Regions from separate parts of the Homo sapiens genome. Here region 1 is linked to region 2. Evidence: promoter capture Hi-C in human tissues and cell types (Jung and others, 2019). All regions are on one chromosome and are shown on one strand. The core of a region is centred on a gene start or on the middle of the fragment in contact, and the rest is flanking DNA. Distances in the headings are between cores, read along the strand shown. Region 1 overlaps PSAP (prosaposin). Region 2 holds the start of SPOCK2 (SPARC (osteonectin), cwcv and kazal like domains proteoglycan 2).

What was found. The method cuts DNA at HindIII sites, captures the fragments that hold promoters and counts their contacts. A contact is called where the count stands out against the background at its distance.
Region 1: a fragment that was not itself captured here is called in contact with the fragment with the promoter of SPOCK2 in region 2 in 1 of the 25 tissues and cell types used here (dorsolateral prefrontal cortex).

What each region holds. Positions count from the first base shown.
Region 1 is chr10:71,823,875-71,828,741 of GRCh38, reverse strand. PSAP (prosaposin) reads left to right here. Exons shown (of 14, transcript NM_002778.4): 6 at 585-728; 7 at 2,849-2,905. Among named protein-coding and RNA genes, the nearest start is that of PSAP, 25 kb to the left of the region's middle. The HindIII fragment of the contact is 3,151 bases long and covers 2,042-4,867 here.
Region 2 is chr10:72,085,699-72,090,738 of GRCh38, reverse strand. It overlaps SPOCK2 (SPARC (osteonectin), cwcv and kazal like domains proteoglycan 2), which reads left to right and starts at 2,188. Exons shown (of 11, transcript NM_001244950.2): 1 at 2,188-2,599. The coding sequence starts at 2,411. The HindIII fragment of the contact is 11,919 bases long and covers 1-5,040 here.

The DNA of each region.
Region 1 (4,867 bases), core at 2,368-4,867, 260 kb after region 2:
GCCTTTAAATGGTTGTACCATGAAGTTTCTAAAGAATGGGATATTTAAAATATGCAAAGATTAATCCCCTTTAAAAAAATTTACTTCTTTTATTTTTGAGACAGGGTCTCGTTCTGTCACCCAAGCTGGAGTGCAGTGGTGTGATCATGGTTCACTGCAGCCTCAACCTCTGAGGCTTAAGTGATCCTCCCACCTTAGCCTCCTAAGTAGCTGGGAGTACAAATGCACACCACCACACCTGGCTAATTTTTGTATTTTTTGTTTTGCCATGTTGCTCAGACTGGTCTCAAACTCCTGGGTTCAAGCGATCTGCCTGCCTCGGCTTCCCAAAGTGCTGGGATTACAGGTGTGAGCCACTGTGCCTGGCCAACCTTTTTATTTATACTAAACCCCCTTTTTATACCATACTGTTACTATAATGAACACTTAATCGATTTTAAGCCTATCAGTAATTTGAGAGCCTGTAAAGCATCTTAGGAACTGGTCAGCAAGTGCCCCCTAATGCTGCAGCCCTGAGTATATAAGGACGTTTTCCTAGGAATTTGAGTCCTCTTAAGTTGCAAACCTAACTGCCTCTTCTGTAGGATAATGGGGACGTTTGCCAGGACTGCATTCAGATGGTGACTGACATCCAGACTGCTGTACGGACCAACTCCACCTTTGTCCAGGCCTTGGTGGAACATGTCAAGGAGGAGTGTGACCGCCTGGGCCCTGGCATGGCCGACATAGTGAGCCTTGTGTCCTTGTGCATTGGGGATGTTCTGGGCCTGGGAGTTGGGCTGTGGAGGCTGGAGTAGGGCGTTCAGACAACATCCTTCTCTTTTTTCCCAGAAAGCAGCTTGAATAGGTAGTGCAGACTTGAATCTATTTTGGTTAATGGCATCTGGATATGTAACAAAACTGGGAACAAAAAGTAGGAGACTGTTTCTGGGAAGATTTTGTTTCCTGCCAGGCACCCTGTGTATTAGGAACACTGTAGAAATACTTTTTGCCCCCATTTTTTTTTTTTTTTTTTGAGACTGAGTGTTGCTCTGTTGCCCAGGCTGGAGTGCAGTGGCGTGATCTCAGCTCACTGCAACCTCTACCTCATGGGTTCCAGGGATTCTCCTGCCTTAGCCTCCCGAGTAGCTGGGATTACAGGTGTGTGCAATCACGCCCAGCTAATTTTTGTATTTTTAGTAGAGATGGGGTTTCACCGTGTTTGTCAGGCTGGTCTCAAACTCCTGATCTCAAGTGATCTGCCCGCTTCAGCCTCCCAAAGTGCTAGGATTACAGGCGTGAGTCTCTGCGCCCGGCCTTTACCCCATTTTTTTCTTTTCTTTTCTTTTTTTTTTTTCTTTTTTGAGACGGAGTCTCGCTCTGTCGCCCAGGCTGAAATGCAGTGGCGCGATCTCGGCTCACTGCAAGCTCCGCCTCCCGGGTTCACGCCATTCTCCTGCCTCAGCCTCCTGAGTAGCTGGGACTACAAGTGCCCGCCACCATGCCCGGCTAATTATTTTTGTATTTTTTAGTGGAGACGGGGTTTCACTGTGTTAGCCAGGATGGTCTCGATCTCCTGACCTCATGATCCGCCTGCCTCGGCCTCCCAAAGTGCTGGGATTACAGGCGTGAGCCACCGCGCCCGGCCATTTACCCCATTTTTGAAAGCTTGGCTAATGTATGTGACACTGAGAATTCCAGCTGTGCTCCTGCAGCAAGCATGGTCGCTGACCATGGTTCACCTGGAAGCCTCCCTTAGTCCTGTGGGCTCAGAAACTCATTTTCTTGGCCCCTTACTTAGATCGTTTCATTCTGGGACCCTATTCCAAGATTATTAATCACACTCAGGTGGATGTGTAAAACCAAAATGCCATTTTTAGTACCTGACAACTGAAGAAACCTGCTAGACTGGCAGCTGAGAAGCTGGTTGTAATTACTCTGTCCTTTGGGATCTAGCGAGGCTTTTTGGGTGGAGTGGCCGGCTCTAGGAGATGAGGCCTTCTCCATTTTTTTTTTTTTCTTGAGACAGGGTTTAGCTCTGTCACCCAGGCTGGAGTGCGGTGGCACAATCATAGCTCACTGCAGCCTTTACCTCCTGGGCTCAAACAATCCTCTTCTCAGCCTCCCAAGTAGCTGGGATTACAGGAGTGAGCCACCACGCCCAGCTGAGGGTTTCTCTCTGACTTTCCGTTAGGAATGTTAATCAGGTGAACATTCATTCATTTTGAAAGCCTAGGAATCCTGTAGCCTCATTTTAAGTGTCTTTGCATAACACCATTTAAACAGGTTTCCCAGTTGAACCCTCTCTGAGAGGCTGTATCATGTTACCTTTGGTCCTCTCTCTGTAGAAGCTCCCCAAATACAAGGAGCAATTCTGTGGAGTCTACTGGAAGTATCTAGATTGTCTGAAAATAAGCAGTTAAAAATCATTATAACTTGACTCTACTGGATTTAAGCTTTATAATGCCATCTGAGATTGTGTAAATGGCTTTGAAAGGTAAGCTCCAGTTCCTAAGCAGTGTATCTCCTAGCTGCCTTCTCTCCAAATTGCCACTGAATAGTTGCTGTGTGATCCTGGGGCACGTGAGGTTATAAGATAAAGGAGACAGGAGGGTGGAATCTTTAAGGTCCCTTAAGAAACATTTTCAAAACGTCTTTTGCACACATTTCCTATAAATGATAGAGTAACCAAATTGTCATTTTCATCTTATTAAAGCTGGCCCAGAGCAGACATTCATAAAATTCTACTTTAGAAACTTGCTTGATAGTCACCAGTTGACACTGTTGGAAATGCTGGGGGGTTTTTGTTGGTTGGGTTTTGGTGCATTGTTGCAGTGATTTGTTTAGCAATCTGTTTCTCTCTCCTCAGTGCAAGAACTATATCAGCCAGTATTCTGAAATTGCTATCCAGATGATGATGCACATGGTAGGTGGCACGGAGGCCCCTTGTTAGCATTTTTCTTTGTTTTTCAGGTTTCGTCATTTCTAGGAATTTTGAAAATTATATGGTTTAGTTTCCCTTTTTTACCTTAGAGTGCTGAATTGGGCTAAATCGACCCCTCTGGCTAGGAGACTCTCCACTTGCAATCTCAGTACCTCCCCTGTTACGGGAGAGGCAGGCTGAAGCATCTTGATCCCAGGACTGCCCTGGTGGCTTCCTGGCAATTTGTTTGCCTCTGCCCGTTCAGGCCAGCCATCAGGTTTCTAGGTCTGGCTTTAACCCTGGGATCTGTAGAAGTCAAGTGCTCTCTAACTAAGCCAGGCCTGAGAATGGCTGTGTTGCCACCTGAGTCGGGGGAATACTGCCTCCCGGAGTTTGTCCCGTGCATGGCAGCAGCGTCCGCTGAAGCTGCTGCTTGAGCTGGTAACTCCTGAGCTGGCTTTGGATGCATTCAGGTGGCAGGGGGCATTCCTTCATTAGAATCAAGAATACCCATTCAGGAAATGAGCTCGCTAGTCCACGCAGAGCAGGGCGGCCTGCTCACGTTGGGAACGGGCACTGCCTCCTTAGATCTGATTGGCAGGGCTGAGTGGGTGGGGGGCACCTTTTCCCTGTCTGTCATGCTTTCTGACTACTTGAGATTGACATACCAGCGTTTGAGTTTGTTCTCTGATCCAGGGGTCAGCAAACTGGCCCATCATGTTTTGTACTTAAAGGGTATTTTTTTGGAACACAGCGACGCCTGTTTTGTGCTACAGCAGCACAGTTGAGTAGTTGCAGCCAGATCTTATGGCCAAGGAGCCTGAAAGATTGACTCTCTGACCTGCTGTAACCACTCAAGCAAGCTGAGGAGGAGTAGTTTATTTGGGATTATTACTCACACCCTACCATGTTCTAAAAACAGTTAAAAGGCAGCTTACAGAGACATGCACCTGAAGTAGGTAAAGATAAGCATTGACGGGATTTAATCTCGTGAAGTACTTCCTCATAGCTAACTTAAAATATTTTTCTCATTATAAAAGTTATACTGTGTAGAAATGTGTTGAAAATATGGACAATACTTCCCACACAAAAATCATTTGGAGTTTCAGAATATATCAACGGGTTCATATATACTACCTTGTACTTTGTAGTTTGCATTTTTTGCCTAAAAATATGTTGGCCATTGAATATTCTTGTACAAATGACTAAATGCTTGCAGAATAATCACCTGTGTACATAGAAGAGAATTTACATAATTGGTCCCCGGTGGCCGGATGTATCTAGGTTGTTTTCAGGTTTGCCTTTGGGAAGATGAATATCCTTATAGCCAAATGCATACATATATGCATATCCCTGCCTTTCCCCTTATTATAGAGAACTAAAGCTGGAACTGCTGAATGGAAGCATGAGGCTTTGGATACATTGTTAAATTGGCCTTCCAGGCTGCCATTTGGCCACCTGCAGTAGATTGCCCTAGGATCCCTTACCCCTCAGGGATCCCTTACCCCCCTTACTTGGGCAGCCCTGTGTCTTGTTCTGTGGTGCTGCTGGTCACTAACCTGTGGGAAAGCCTTGTGGGCCCGGGGCCAGTGTGGGCTCCTGAGTATGGAGACCCTTCATCAAGCATTTTCTGGGGCTCTTGCTACACAGTGTTTTGAGTGTGATTTAGTGTGTAAGACCTGGAGATGGTGCACACAGAGCAGGACAGCCCCCAAATGGTCTATCCCTGCAGGGCCAGGAAAGCTTTCAGGGCCCCCTTGTCCGCAAGATAGCAGGAACAAGGTAGGTTGCTAAGATCTGATTGCAAGAGCATTTCCCCTGAACCTCTTGGGACATCCTTACACCTGGTTAACTGCTTGATTGTTGTTTTAATTTTTCTTAACTGTTGTGTCCTTTCCTTTCTCTTATTTTCACCTCCGATTTCCTGTTTTTTTGTTCAACAGCAGGATCAGGTATGTGTCGGGG
Region 2 (5,040 bases), core at 939-3,438:
TTGTATAGAGATAGGGTCTCGCTATGTTGCCCACGATGGTCTGGAACTCCTAGGCTCAAGCCATCCTCCTGCCTCTTGGCCTCCTAAAGTGCTGGGATTACAGGTGTGAGTCAGCACACCTGGCCCTTTTTTTCTTCTTTGTAAACTAAAACTATTGGCCATTTCCTACAAGTTTTACACCAGTCATCTGGAAATTTGGGTTCTTCTTCCTAAATAGCATTACTATTGGCTTCACTAATGGGACTGGAATGTTGTTGATTAGCTTTCGACACAGGACTAGTATTGACCCAGCTTGAAGGTGCTACAGAAGGCAAGTCCCACTGGAGAAGCTACCTGGGACTGTGGGAGCCATTTTGACCCTCAGAGTCTGGAGACAGCTATTGTCATATTGATGGGCATCTTGACAGCACCTTTCCAAACTCTTTATTCAGCAACTTTGGTAACTCTGGAAGCCCCTAAGATAGCACAGGAATGGGAGAGCTGTGGTATCTGGTACCTATCTCCTAAGTGCCTTAGAGATATATAGCTAGCTTTGCTAAAAACGAAAACAGAAACAAAAAAAAAAAAAACAACAAAAAACTAGGATTGTAGGATTGAGATGGTGGAAAAGATGGCAAATTTTGATGAATCTTCAGAACTATGGGACACCGTAGCCTTCTCTTCCCAACCAGAGGAAAGACTAACTTTTTAAAAAAATGCCCATTATGCCCACTTAGTATGTAATTTTGCTTGCACTTTACAGCAGTTTTAATGATGGTATTACCATTAGTTTTAGATAGAAAATAGGTAATTGCTCAAGAATCCAGCCAGTAAGTGGGATTCTGTCCTCTAGTCTCCACGACAGCAAGCCGTGCTCTCTCACTGTACAGCGCCAGGACACACCCAGGAAGAATGCTTTATTACTGTGAGATGAAGACGTCAATGGCCAGGGCCTCACTGCAGCACCACCACTAAATCCAACAGCAAAGGAAACAAGAAAACATGGAAAGGGAGCTATTGTTTTCTGTTTTCCCAACGAGACTCCGGCCTGAGCCACTGAGGCATTCAGAGTTCCCAGATAGGCCAGATTCAGGGTGACAAGGAACCTTGTAAGCTATGTTTTTTCCTACTGATTAAGATTATGTTTTTTAAAGCATTTTAAATTTTTATTTTATTTTTAGATCACAGCAGCTAAGTCTTTTTATAAAAACACAATCTAGGGCTTGGGTCCCAAAAGTTCACTAGGTTTTGTCCCATCAGATGATGTTTCCTCTTTAATGTATTTGTAATGTAAACCTGTCCCCATTTCTGCTGTGCTCTTGGGACTGTGGCCAGCCTCCAGCCTTCCCCGCTGGTATGTCAACATTTAAATCTACAGCCAATAAGGAGGGTCGCAGTTTCAACAAAACCCGAAACACCTCAAACAAAACCAGCACCCCACCCCAGCCCCCCACTCCCCGGCTTCCCCAGTGGCTTATTCAAACTAACTTGAAGTCAAAAAACCATAAGCAAATATGCCTTTTCCAAATTTGCAGCCTCCAAGGCAGATGAAATGGTCAGACATTTGCCTTTTAGGGTTGTCCTGGGAAGAGCTGACAAAACGGGTGACAGCCCCTAAACAGCTGCCTGGGGAGGAGGACATCTGCCTCTGTTTCACCAGCCACTCAGTGCTCAGGCCTTGCCTTGCGCAACGCGGTGCCGCTGGGGAGCAATGGTTCTGAGCAGCCAGTTGTTATACGGCTTTTGTCTTAACGAAGCCACCCATTACGGTAGAGCCATAACTCGCAGGAAGCCAGCTGTCAGGGCTGTGGCGCAGGCCCCTCTGGGTGGGAGGCAAGGGGAGAAAAACAGTGTCTGGCCAAATTCCCTTTCCGACACCTGAGCCTGGCTGGCTTTGTAACCGGAGAGTTTTGTGCCCTCTCCCCCATCCCATCTTCCCCGGGGAGATCCTGGGGCCCTTCTTGCTCTCCATCCTTTGAGGGAGCTCAGGGACATTTCGGGATTCTGGATTTCTTGGTCTGCAACTCCCTGTGTGCCAGGCGGGGCTGGGCCCCGCTGCGGCTGGCTGGCGTTTGGCGCTCTCATCGAGGGAGCGCTTCGCTTTGAAATCTACCCACTCCTTTTTTTTTTTTTTTTTTAAACCAGGTATGATGATGTCAAACGTGATGCTGATGCTACAGTTACAGCCCCTGCTGGCGCAGCCTCTCTGATTCTCTCTCCCTCTCCGCGTCCAGTGCTGGGCTTTTTCAGACAAGTGCATCTCCTAACCAGGTCACATTTCAGCCGCGACCCACTCTCCGCCAGTCACCGGAGGCAGACCGCGGGAGGAGAGCTGAGGACAGCCGCGTGCGCTTCGCCAGCAGCGGGGTGGGAGGAAGGACATTAAAATACTGCAGAAGTCAAGACCCCCCCAGGTCGAACCCAGACCACGATGCGCGCCCCGGGCTGCGGGCGGCTGGTGCTGCCGCTGCTGCTCCTGGCCGCGGCAGCCCTGGCCGAAGGCGACGCCAAGGGGCTCAAGGAGGGCGAGACCCCCGGCAATTTCATGGAGGACGAGCAATGGCTGTCGTCCATCTCGCAGTACAGCGGCAAGATCAAGCACTGGAACCGCTTCCGAGACGTGAGTCCGCAGGGCTGCCAAGGCAGAGACCCGGGGTTGCGGGTTCGGGGATTGAGCTCCGGGGTCTGCGGGAGCGGCCGCCGCACGTCGCAGCCCGAGGCTCCGCAGCCTGGCCGGCTAATTACACGGAAAGTAAACAGTACTGGGGGTCACAGCCCAGCGCCCCTCCCCTGTCCCTGCGGCCCGGGCCGGCGGCCCTGGGACCCCCCAGCCCCGGGACCCCCAGCTCCACACCTGCCCGACGCTCCGGGGTCGCGCGCTCCGGGGTCTCCCCTGCGGGCCGGGAGTGGGAAGGGGTGCGGGGCCGGGGGGACCCGGACCCCGGCTGCCGCTGGACCCCGACCCGGTCCCCAGCTGCGTTGTGCGAGCCGCCCCCGGGCCTGCCCCAGCCGCTGGGATGCTGCAGGCTGCACATACGGGGCACTGCAGCACCGGCAGGTCTGGGTGGGGCCGGCAGTGAGGGTGGCATCGGCTCGCGCGGTGCCCTCTGTTCCCACCGTGGGCTTTGCGGGAGGGGGACAGCATGGGACGGGAGTGTGACCGGGGCTCTGGGTCTGGGGTCCCAGCAGCCTTCTAGGCGAGATGGTGGAAGGCGTGTCCGTACGGGGGTGGGCTGGGGTCCCCGTGCAGAAGGGCGCGCGAGGACCCAGGCTGGTTTTCCCGGACCAACATTTCAGGGGGGAATCCAGCCTGGAGCGAGGGGAGCAGCTCGGAGCCAGAGGAAGGCTCCCGGCCCGGTGGGCTTGAGAAGCCGGGGAGAGTCCAGAAGCTGGGTTTGGGGGCCCCCGGCGGGCGCCGCCCGAACCCCGGCGTAACCTTGGGCCGAACTCCGCGGGGTGGGGGCGGGGGGGTAGCTGCGGCACTTTTGTTTACCGGCACCTGTGGATCAGAGGGGAAGTCGCAGGCGGCGGCCCGGCGGGGCTGGCTCCTTCCTCTCGGCCGGGCCGGGTTGGGGGCTGGGGAAGCAGGGGTGAGGCAGGGCGGGCGGAGGGTGTGGCTGGACCCCGAGATCGTTGGGGGTGCTGTGGGGGATGGGCCCGGATGCGCCAGAGGCGACGCCGGCTGCTCCTGGCGACCTGGTGCTCACCGCGGCCCTGACCCCAGAAAACCTCTTCTAGGACCCTGGCCCTTACTCCTCCTTCCCCAGGTTCCCTCGTCCGACCCACCCAGTACAACGCAGGCCACACCATGACCTCTCCCGTTTTCTCCTTAAACTGCGTGCATCCACAAGTTCCTTGGAAATTTGTTTAAAACACACATGCTTCATAGGCTATCCAGCCAAGTGATGGGAAGAGGCAGAGATTTGGATCTTTTTGTTACCGTCAGACAAGTGACTGTTTCTCCCCAAAGTCAAACTGGCAGGTTGTAATTCACAGAGGACAGCAGGAACCACGGGCAGCCAGGTCTCCAGGCTGAGTGGCCGGGCCCCGCGATGGGCTGCTGATCTCCGCCTTCGCCCCACATGCGACCTGTCCAGCCGCAGGAGCCTGGAGCCCCGCGAGGCCTTCCCGAAGCACCTGCAGGCCCAGCGCAGATGAGCCGCAGTCTCCTGCCGCTTCCTGGGCAGCAGCCCGGCCACAGCAGCGAGGGGGCGGCAGCAGGCCGGCCCATCCGGAATCCATGTGTCACTGGCCTAGGCCTCCCTCCGACTCGCTGGCTGTTTGATCTGCCAAAATGGGACCAGTGAAGGTCAGAGGGAAAAGAAATGCTTAATCAGAACAGGAAAGGTTTAAAATAAAAGATTCCTCCCCACCTCCCTTCTTCCACCTGCTTCCAATAGCCAGCTCCGTGGGTGAGAATAAATGACTTACTGCTTGACCCCATGGCACTGGGCTACCCACCTGTCTCTCTGTATTGGTGCCAACCACTTCCCCCTTCCTCTCATGCTCATCAGAAGAAAGGCACTAGATTTGAAAGTCTTCAGGACTTGCACATGTAAGATTCATGGGAAAGCTTTAGGTGTGTGTTGATTTTGGTAGCCTCAGGCTTTTGTAGGACAGATGTCCTCTAAAACCCCATTTAAGGTAGTCCTGGCTGCAGGAGGACAGGGTCAGGGAGAGAAGTAGGACAAAGAAGGCTGGGCAAGAGGGCCTGGCCCTGGGGATCTGTTGACAGCCTCTGCAGAAAGGCAGGAAGGAGGCTGCTAGCTCAGAGCCACTGCATTGCATAACTCTAGGGGTGCCACAATAGAAATGGTGCCCCCTGAAGTTGTGCAGTGCCCAGACAGTACACAGGGTCCCCACCAGCACTACAAACATATCCCTCTTCTGCCAGAAGAAGCCCTACTTCCTGCCTAAGGGCTGAAGGCACTCTAACTGGGCCCAGTAGCAACGGGCTTTATATTTCCATTAGGCCAGCTCTTTGGAAAATATGCTCCTTGGTTCCTCAAAGGAGAGAGGGGAATTTCGTTTGAACCCCTTAAGGGGTTACAAGGTTGAACT